Regions from separate parts of the Homo sapiens genome. Here all the other regions are linked to region 2. Evidence: promoter capture Hi-C in human tissues and cell types (Jung and others, 2019). All regions are on one chromosome and are shown on one strand. Each heading gives the region's core, a stretch centred on a gene start or on the middle of the fragment in contact. The rest is flanking DNA. Distances are from core to core; before and after follow the strand shown.

Region 1 (3,213 bases), core at 484-2,983, 110 kb before region 2:
TTAGAAGGATGTGGATATGAGAGACGAGGGTAAGAAAAATGTCAAGAAAGATGGCCAGGCTTTGAGTTTGAGTTATGAACTGAAATGGTTGGAAGATGCTCACTGAGCTAGGGCATACAGGAGGCAGACAATTGTAGTGGGAGGGGTGGGGAGGCAAGGAAGTAGCTCTAGAAGATTCTAAGTGTTTTGAGTTTGAGATGCCATGGGATGTCCAATTAATGATGTCATTAGGCATTTTGTTATGTGGATCTGGAGTCATTGAGAGGGATCAGAGCTGGAGATTCAGAATTGGGAGTCATTGGCTTAGAGGTGGGGCATGAAGGAGATCATTGAGGCAGTGAGAAGAGACGATCCCAGGAAAATCACAGCTCTTTAGATGGAGTGAGGGGAAGAATTGAAAGGAGACTAAGGAGAGGTGGTCAGAGAATTAGGAAGAAAACCAAGAGAATAGTATGGAGTCACCGAATCTAGGGACAGAGTCTTTGTAGAAAAGAAACAGGTCCACAGATTGAATGCTGCTGAGAAGGGCTGATGAGTGAATATGCCTGGTGATCTTGATGAGAATATTTCTGGTGAAATAGTGGGATTCTAGTGAGATTTTGGTGATCAGAGAACGAGAGAAAGGATATTCCAGGCTGAGGGGACTGAATCAGCATAAAAAGTGACCCAGCACAGAATAAACCATGTCTAGGGAATGGAGAAGAGAGAGTTGGAGAAATTCCAATTCCAGGAGGAATTCCAGTTTCAGGAGGTTGGATTATATTCTGTAGACATTAGGGAACCAAGGCAGATGTTGAGCACAGAAGTGTAATTAAGAGAAGATAAACATTTCTTTAAAAGAAGACTGCCTGCATGGCTCATGTCTGGGAAAACTGAGATTTTCCCAGGTTTCTTTGAAGATTAGTGTTTTAAGAACTAGGACCCAGTGGCTCTATCAGTCCTGAAGATTGAGCAGGGGAAGAATTCATTTCGTGTGATTACATAGAACCAAGCCATTTCCTGATACACCTACACTTGAGACTTGGGGAAATGGGATGTGGAGGATATGGGTACTAGTAATTCTGATGAGGATTTAATTAAGAACTCAATTTTCCCAGACTTCCAGTACTTGACTGCCTGATGTTTCTTTAATGGGAACTGTTGATATGTTCTAATTATGGCCGGTTATTTATGGGATCAGGTCTCATCTCTCTGCTCAATTATGTTTTGTTTGGGAGATCTGCATTCTTTTATGACTCTAGTTCTTAAGTGAGTCTATTGTCTTCCCCAAAGACACACTTAGTCTGGGGACCTCTCATCTGTGGCTTTTCCTCTACCAGAAATCCCACCACCCTTTTCCTTTCTCTTCTACTCATTGATAAATTCTGAAGCCATAGGGAAGGCAACTCCTCTCTCTCATATTCACAGCGCTATCTGTGGCTGTACTCTTGTCTGGCCCTGGATTTGCCCTGAAGACTCAGCTTAAAGGCTTCCTTTAAATGTTTGAGACAGGATTCTTTAAAATTATCTGAGTATTAGATGTCTTTGAAATTCTGAGAGAAGTACAAATTCCAGGTGCTCAGGGTCAAGACACACATTTGATAGTCTGAATCAGAAATAACTTACAGAGTTTCTTCATGGACGAAAAGCTTCTGGTTCACTACTTTGGAGATATTCTTATAAAGTACACTGGGTCCTAGAAAATGTGTGCTCCCATGGACACAAATTGAGGAATAACAGACACTGGGACCTACTTAAGGGTGAAGGGTGGGAGGAGGGAGAGGATCAGAAAAAATAACCATTGGGTACTAGGCTTAGTACCTAGGTGACTAAATAATCTGTACAACAACCCCCATGATGACACAAGTTTAGCTATACAACAAAGCTGCACGTATACCCCTGAACCTAAAATAAAAGCTAAAAAAAAAAAAAAAAGTGTGTTCCCTCTAGACCTGGAGTATCTTGAAAGCAAGGATCATTCTATTTACGTGTGTGTTGGGAAAAATAATTTTAATAGCAGAGAAGGAACTGTATTTTGAAAACTGCTTGGGAAAGCCTCTTAGAGGAGGAAATTGAGTCCATAAGAACATTAGCTGGAAGGAGACCTCAAAACAAGCTAAAAATTCTTCATAAGGAACAAACAAGAATTTTGAGTTGGCAGAGAATAGAGAAGGGGAAAAAGAGTAAAGAGAGAAAAGAAAAAGAAAGATGGAAACCTGGCATCATGGCAAGAGGCTGTAATATGGTTTGGCTGTGTCCCCACCCAAACCTCATCTTGAACTGTAGCTTCCATAATTCCCACATGTTGTGGGAGGGACCTAATGGGAGATAATTGAATCATGGTGGTGGTTTCCCCTATGCCATTCTCATGGTGGTGAATAAGTCTCATGAGATCTAATGTTTTTATAGGGGTTTCCTCTTTTGCTTGATTCTCATTCTCTCTTGCCTGCCACCATGTAAGATGTGCCTTTCACCTTCTGCCATGATTGTGAGGCCTCCCCAGCCACGTGGAACTGTGAGTCCATTAACCCTCTTTTTCTTTATAAATTACCCAGTCTCAGGTATGTCTTTATCAGCAGCATGAAAATGGACTAATACAGGCTGGAAACTGGAGGAGAGTGACCCATGAAAAATTTCTAGTGGTGAAGTGGCCAAAAGACTTCAAGTGACCAGGGATGTCAGTTTTCAGTGTGAAGTTACTGTGATGTTGTAGTGTAAATGCCCTCCTTCACACCTAAACCACAAGTCATAGTCTTCTATTTACATAAATGACCTGTGTGGGTGATCTGGGGGACTTCAAGAAAATGGAGCTGATTGCCACTCAAGATAAGATTAGTTGGAAGAGGCAGAAATACAGAACCAGAGGAGGAAGCATCTAAAAACCTTTGGAGATATTGGGAGGGGCACTGGGTTTTACTCTGAGTATCAGTCAGAATAGGAAACTTTATGCTGCAGTAATAAAGAACCTCCCCACTGCCAATCTAAGTGAGCCACAACCACAAATGTTTATTTCTCACTATGCTGTCATCAACCTCTCTGCACTTTGGGATTCAGGCTGATGGAGTAGCTCTTATCTGGGACATTGCTGATCAATAAGGCAGAGGCGAAAAAGAAGGTGATGAACCACACATTGACTTTTAAAGTTTCCTTTCAGCAATCTCACTTCTAATCGTGTTTAATTGGTTAAAGAAAGACACCTGGCCATGCCTGAGTTTAACAGGGTGGAATGTGCTC
Region 2 (3,418 bases), core at 481-2,980:
TCGTGATCTACCCGCCTTGGCCTCCCAAAAGGATTATTTGCGTGAGCCACCACTCCCGGCCAGAAGACTCCTTTTAACGTCTTGTGTTATGAGTGTTTGTTAAGGGGGGCAAGAGTTGTGTTTCTTAATTTCATGTCTCCCATATAGGGCTAAACTCCCAATTTAACTTATTAGGGAAAGGAGGTGTCTTCTACACAGTGCCTCCGTTTCCTAAAATTTTAAAAATAACTTTTTTGAGGATTGTAGGGAAAACATTTCTGTAACCTTTCCTGTCTCATATTGCTCCAGTTCTTTAAACATTACAAAAAAGAACATTTGATTTTTGAAGGTGGGGGCAGAGAGAAGATACCTGGTTACTCTTAATTTCCAATGCTTTTATTTTTGAAAAGTACCCTTGCAGTTTTCTTTTGGGGAGGGGCAAAGAAGGATTTCTGTTCACCTTGCATCTCATAGAAGAGCAATTCTTAACATTTTTATTCCAAAAATCAACCAGTTGTGGGAGATGTAGGATGGATCCAGTAATCCCTCCTTGTCTCTATAATAGGGCAGGTCCTTCATACTTTCAATTTTTAAAAAATCGGATTTTTTAGGAGAATAGGGAAGAGAATAGAAAAAAAAATCCCTTTTAAACTTTCCCAAGTCACAAGGAGGCAGTTGCTCAAGTTAAAAAAAAAAAAACAACAATAACAACAACAAAAAAACTGGCTATTTTGGGGTGTTGGAAAGAAATATCCTGGTTCACGTTTTATTTCACATGCAAGTTTCTCAAATTTTCCTTCTCTAAATCAACCTAACTGGGGGATATGGGGGTGGGGGGCGCTAATATCCCTTAACCTTTAACCCCTCTTGTCTTACTGTAGGACCAGTTTTTCAAACTTTTATTTAGAAATACATATATATATTTTAATTTGGCAAGGATAGGCAGAAACAGCCGCTTCACTGGCATTTCACATAAAAGCGGCTCCTCAAGTATTTATTTTAAAAATCAGTCTGGCTGGGGGGCTAGAGTCCCCTTAACCACTCTTGTCGGACATGGGGCCAGTCCTTCAAACTTTTATTTTATTACATTAGTTTTTTTGGGAGGAGTGGCAGGGCAATAGAATATTCCCAATAAGCCTTCCAGTCTTCCAGCAAGCCAGCTCTTGAAAACTTTTATTTCAAAAATCAATCTGGTTTTTTTTTGGCGGGGGGGTACAGCGGGGTACAGAGTTCCCATTAACCTCTTGCGTTCCGCCGAGAGCCGGCTCCCTGAACTTTTTTTCCAGCGTGAAAATGACATTTCCGAGGGGCTGGGGGACTGGGGGAGGGCAGAAGGGAGCCGGGGAGCGGGCGCGGGGGGCGCGGGGAGGGCAGGGCGCGGCGCGGGAAAGTTTGGGGGGGCGGGTGTGCCGCGGCACTGGGGCTGGCGGACGGGAGGGCGGGCGCGCCCCTGGACCGGCCGGCTTTGTGTGCCACGCGGAGGCCGGCAGCGCGGAGGCCGAGGCCGAGGCCCCGAGCTCGCGGGCCGCACGGCGAGGCCGGCCCGGGGGCGGGCAGGGCGGCGGGGGGCGGCGGCGGCCCCGCGAGGGGCGGCTCGGCGGCAGCGGCTGCCGCGGCGCGGCCGGTGCGGGCCGGGGGTGGGGGCGAGGGCCGGCGCCCCCCCCGCGCGCCCCCAGCGCCCCCGCCCCCCCGGCCTGAGCGGGGCGGGCGGAGGAGGGAGCGGCGGCGGCGGCGGCGGCGGCGGCGGCGGCATTGTGCGCGCACCAGCAGCCCGGCCCGGGAGGAGCAGGACGCGCCGGGGCCGCCTCCTCCCGCACGGACCCATGAACCAGCCGGGCGGCGCGGCGGCTCCGCAGGTACGACGGGGGGCCGGGGGCATGCACCGCGCGGGGGACCCCGGGGGGCCGGGGCCCGGGGCGCTGCGCCACTTCATTGCAAGATTTGCAAAATGCAAAGTGCCTGGGCACGTTTGCGGGCTTTTTGTGGGCGCAATCGGGAGGGTCGGGGTCCGGAGAGCACCCCCCCGGGCGCTGCGGGGTGCGAGGAGGGTGGGGGTGACGAGGGGGTCTTTTGGGGCCCCCACCCAGCGCCCCCTCCGGCCCCGGGCTCGGACCGGAGCCCAGAAAACAAAGCGGCGAGAGAACAGAGCAGCCATTTCAGTTTGGACAATTCACATTTTGCAAAAATGCAACCCCTTCCAGCTCTGCCCCCTCCCCCCCAAATTTGCAATTTTCCCCTGACCCTCTCTGCGCTCGGGGTCCCCGATGACCCCCCGGGAGGTCTTTCCCCCCAGGTCCCCCATTTTTGCAACAATCTTTTTTTTTAGGCCATATTTTCCTTTCTCAATTTTTTTTTTCTAATTTTTCTTCAAACGGTAGTTTTTTCCCATTAAAACGACGCCACCTAGAGGATACTATTTTGTAAATAAAAAAGAAATTAAAATTGAAAAGAAATATTTTTTATTTCTTATTTTTTCAAAAGTTTGCACTACCAGGCAGTGGAGGGGTAAGAGATTCTTTTTTTTTCTTTTTTCGGGTGAAAATTTTCACTTTGATCTTTCCAGAAGCATGGAGACAATTTTTATTTCTGAAGCCAAATCCAGATAATATGTAAATGAAAATTAAGCTGGAATTTGAATGAATTTAGTTCTTGGAGGGGAGAAAGCAAAAAACCTCCTAAAAGCAAAGTCAGTTTGGGTACCCAACTCATTTTAGTTTGAGAAAAAAACTAATTGGAATAAAGAAAGGAGGGAAATTGTTGAGTTTAGGGAAAACTGAGAGAATTGGCTTTATGAAGCAATTAGAAATTGTACTTCATTGTAATTTGGAACTTGTTTAGCTCAGCGGGCAAAAAAAGACTAATTTCTCTATATGGCAATATTTAAAGTTTTTCTATTTCCACGAACGAAGGATTTAAAAGAGAAAATAGAACCTAAAATGTTGGCTTTGGACACACCCAAAAATTGTAGTTTTTTTTTTTTAATTTTGCATTTACATTTTACTGCATTTAAATCCTAAGATTCTAAAGAAAACAGAAACTAGAAAAGTTACAGTGAAATCCTTTCTTTCTTTTTTTCTGTATTTGTTGGGTTTTGTGTGTGTGTGTGTTTTTTTTGTTTTGATGGAATAATTAAGACTGTTTTCTGATTTTGTTTCCTGAAAGGTCTAGGCATTTCTTTTTTGTTGTTGTTTTATCCAGAAAATGTCAGGAACCTTTTTTGAGCAATATTAAGTGGAAAAAATGTAAATTCATACATTATACAAATTGAGTAGCCCACAGATTTGTAGGAGAGACCGCCATTAAAATAAGATATGCATAATTAACATTATTATGAAAAAACTAACAGTGGATTCACAGAAGCTCATTTTTTATGACATGCAACTGAATCAATTGATGAAGACAAGGATTGAGGAATCCTTGGTAAGGAAGAAAATTTTCC
Region 3 (3,179 bases), core at 218-2,717, 75 kb before region 2:
ATGTCCTCGTAACTGCCCCAGGACTTGTTCTGTAAGGGGCTTTTCCTTGGCAGGCAATTACCTGAGTTCATATGGTTAATTGAAATATTCCTTTTCCTAGAGTTTTAATTCATCCAGCGTAGTTTCAGGAGCCACAGATAATAAGACCTAATTTATAATTAGGGCTTATCAAGAATCAGCTAATTTCTAGACCCCTGATTCCCAAGGAGGGAGTGTAGAGTGGGGGCCTCTCTTCCCTTTCCAGGGAGTTGCTATCCACAAAGCTCAAAGAGGCACCAGGGAGGAAAGAGAACTAATTGGTAGCTGGCCCTCCATCTTGGACAATTTATTAATTGGATTATGGGAAGTCTCAGGCCCCAGGCAAATCCCAAAGAGGCGCTGCTGCCTCCCCTGGTTTACTATGAGAATATTAGACACAAAGACACGAGACCTGGGTTCCACGCAGTCTTTCAGGAGCTAGGGATCTTTAAATAAGTCACTGAACACTGCCTTGCCTCAGTTTCCCCAGCTATACAATGACCAGGATCATCCCTGCCCTGCTGGGCTCTCAGAGATCTCCTGGGAATTACACAGATGACTGGGCAAGTACATTTCAGGAGCTGTCATGATTATTTTAGGGCCTGTGTGCCTGGAATGGGCCCAAAACACAGCCAGAAAAAGGTGTCCCAACCCAGGAAACAAGGTCTCAGAGAGACTGAGACTGGCCAAGACCCACAGGCAGTAAGAGTTGGGGGTCCGCCTTTGACCTCAGTTGGCCTTGTACCCGGTTTCCTGATCTTTCCTTACATCTGCAGATCTTTGGGGTCTTAGACCCAGTCTCCCTATTGCTTACCTGCTGCAAGCTTCACTTATCCCCTGAAGCCTCTCAAACATCCACCCAGCCAGTGCGAGTACAAGAAAGGGGTCATGCAGGGACCGTGGAGTGAGGACAACTTTGGAATCACATAGGCCTGATTTAAAACTCACACTCTGCCCTTTACTAGCTGTATACATCAGGATTCTTTGGGTTTCATGGGACAGAAACCCAGTTCTAATAACCTTAAGCTAAAGAGAAATATTAGCTAATGTATCCGGAAACTCTAGAGTTACTAGCTTTAGGTAGGGCTGGATCCAGGTGCTCAATGATGGTGACAGACCCCTCTTTCTTGCTTCAGCTCTTATTGTGATTTTTTTCTATGTTTACTTCATTCTTTTTTTTTTTTTTTTTTTGAGATGGATTCTCACTCTGTTGCCCAGGCTGGAGTGCAGTGGTGCCATCTTGGCTCACTGCAACCTCCACCTCCCATGTTCAAGTGATTCTTCTGCCTCAGCCTCCCATGTAGCTGGGATTACAGGCGCCCACCAACACACCCAGCTAATTTTTCGTATTTTTAGTAGAGATGGGGTTTCACCACGTTGGCCAGGCTGGTATCAAACTCCTGACCTCAGGTGACCTGCCCACCTTGGCCTCCCAAAGTGCTGGGATTACAGGCATGAGCCGCTGCGCCCAGCCGACTTCTTTCTATAGCAGGATTTCACCAGTGGTGGGAAAAGATGGTGGTACCTCATCCCTGGGGTGAGGGAGAGAAGGCGGAATAAGCTCACTACATAGACTGAGCAGGATTCCCTTGCAGCTGAGAAGAGTGGTTCTGCAAAGAAAGGGAGATTGGCAGGACAAAAAGCCAGGTCATCCCAAGCTAATCACGCACGCTGTGTGATCCTCTGTCTTCCTATCTTTACAACAGGATCGAAAACCATATTGCAGAATAAAAGAGTAATATATCAAAGTCTATTGTATTTCCATACACTAGCAATAAACAATCTGAGAACAAATTAAGAAAAACAATTCAATGTATAATAGCTTCAAAAGGAATAAAATACTTAGAAATAAATTTAACAAAAGAAGTGCAACACTTGCACACAAAAGCTACAAAACATTGTTGAAACAAATTAAAGACCTAAATAAATATAAAGACAACCTGTGTTCATGGAAGATTTCACATTGTTAAGAAGGCAGGACTCATCAGATTGCTCTATGATTGCTTTTTGTCCTGCTCTACATATTCAGTGCCATCCATGCAAAATTCCAAATTATTTTCTTCAGAAATGGATAAGCTGATCCTAAAATTCACATGGAAGTACAAGGGACCAAGAATAGCCAAAACAATCTTGAAAAACAAAATTGGAGAACTCACACTTTCTGATTTCAAAACTTTCTCAAAACTACAGTGATCAAGACAGTGTGATACTGGCCTAGGATAGACATAGGGTCAATGGCACTGACTTGAGAGTACAGAACTAAACCCATATATCTATGGTCAACTGATTTTCAACAAGGATGCTGAGACAATTAAATAGGGAGAGAATAGTTTTTTGAATATATGGCACTGCAACAATTGGCCATCCACATGTGAAAGAAGGAAGTTGGACCCTTACCTCACAAATTAGTTAAAAATTAACTGAAAAAGGATCGTAGATCTTCTAGCGAAAACTATAAAACTCTTAAAAGGGGCTGGGTGCAGTGGCTCATGCTTGTAGTCCCAGCAATTTGGGAGGCCAAGGCAGGGGGATCACGAGGTCAGGAGATGGAGACCATCCTGGCCAACACGGTGAAACCCTGTCTCTACTAAAAATACAAAAAAAAATTAGCTGGGTGTGGTGGTGCACACCTGTAGTCCCAGTTACTCGGGAGGCTGAGGCAGGAGAATCACTTGAACCCAGAAGGCGGAGGTTGGACTAGGCAATGGGTTTCTTAGATATGGCACCAAAACATAAGTGACCAAAAAGTGGGTAAATTGAACTTCATCAAACATTAAAAACATTTAGTTTTTTGAAACTTCTAATTTTTACTTAAAAGGGCACTATCAAGAAAGTAATAAAGAGAATGGGAGAAAATATTTACAAATCATATATCTGATAAGAGACTTTTATACAGAATATATAAAGAAATATTACAATTCAATCAAAAAACAAATAATTAAAAATTGGATTTATAATCAAATATCAAAAGATTTAAATGTGCATTTCTCCATGGAAGATATACAAATGACTGATAAGTACGTGAAAAGACATTCATCATTAATCACTCAGGAAATGCAAATCAAAACCACAAGGAGATAGCACTTCATGTCCACTAGGATGGCCATAGTCCAGAAGATGGTCATTAACAGGCATTGGCAAAGACGTGAAGAAATTGGAAG

Evidence for each region. The method cuts DNA at HindIII sites, captures the fragments that hold promoters and counts their contacts. A contact is called where the count stands out against the background at its distance.
Region 1: a fragment that was not itself captured here is called in contact with the fragment with the promoter of ZNF618 in region 2 in 2 of the 25 tissues and cell types used here (aorta and spleen).
Region 3: a contact is called between a fragment that was not itself captured here and the fragment with the promoter of ZNF618 in region 2, in 4 of the 25 tissues and cell types used here (adrenal gland, bladder, liver and 1 more).

The regions. Positions count from the first base shown.
Region 1 is chr9:113,764,541-113,767,753 of GRCh38, forward strand. No RefSeq gene overlaps it. Among named protein-coding and RNA genes, the nearest start is that of ZNF618, 110 kb to the right of the region's middle. The HindIII fragment of the contact is 7,375 bases long and covers 1-3,213 here.
Region 2 is chr9:113,874,579-113,877,996 of GRCh38, forward strand. ZNF618 (zinc finger protein 618) reads left to right here and starts at 1,731. Exons shown (of 15, transcript NM_001318042.2): 1 at 1,731-1,835. The coding sequence starts at 1,803. RefSeq lists an enhancer at 1-155. The HindIII fragment of the contact is 30,531 bases long and covers 1-3,418 here.
Region 3 is chr9:113,800,263-113,803,441 of GRCh38, forward strand. No RefSeq gene overlaps it. Among named protein-coding and RNA genes, the nearest start is that of ZNF618, 74 kb to the right of the region's middle. The HindIII fragment of the contact is 4,669 bases long and covers 1-3,179 here.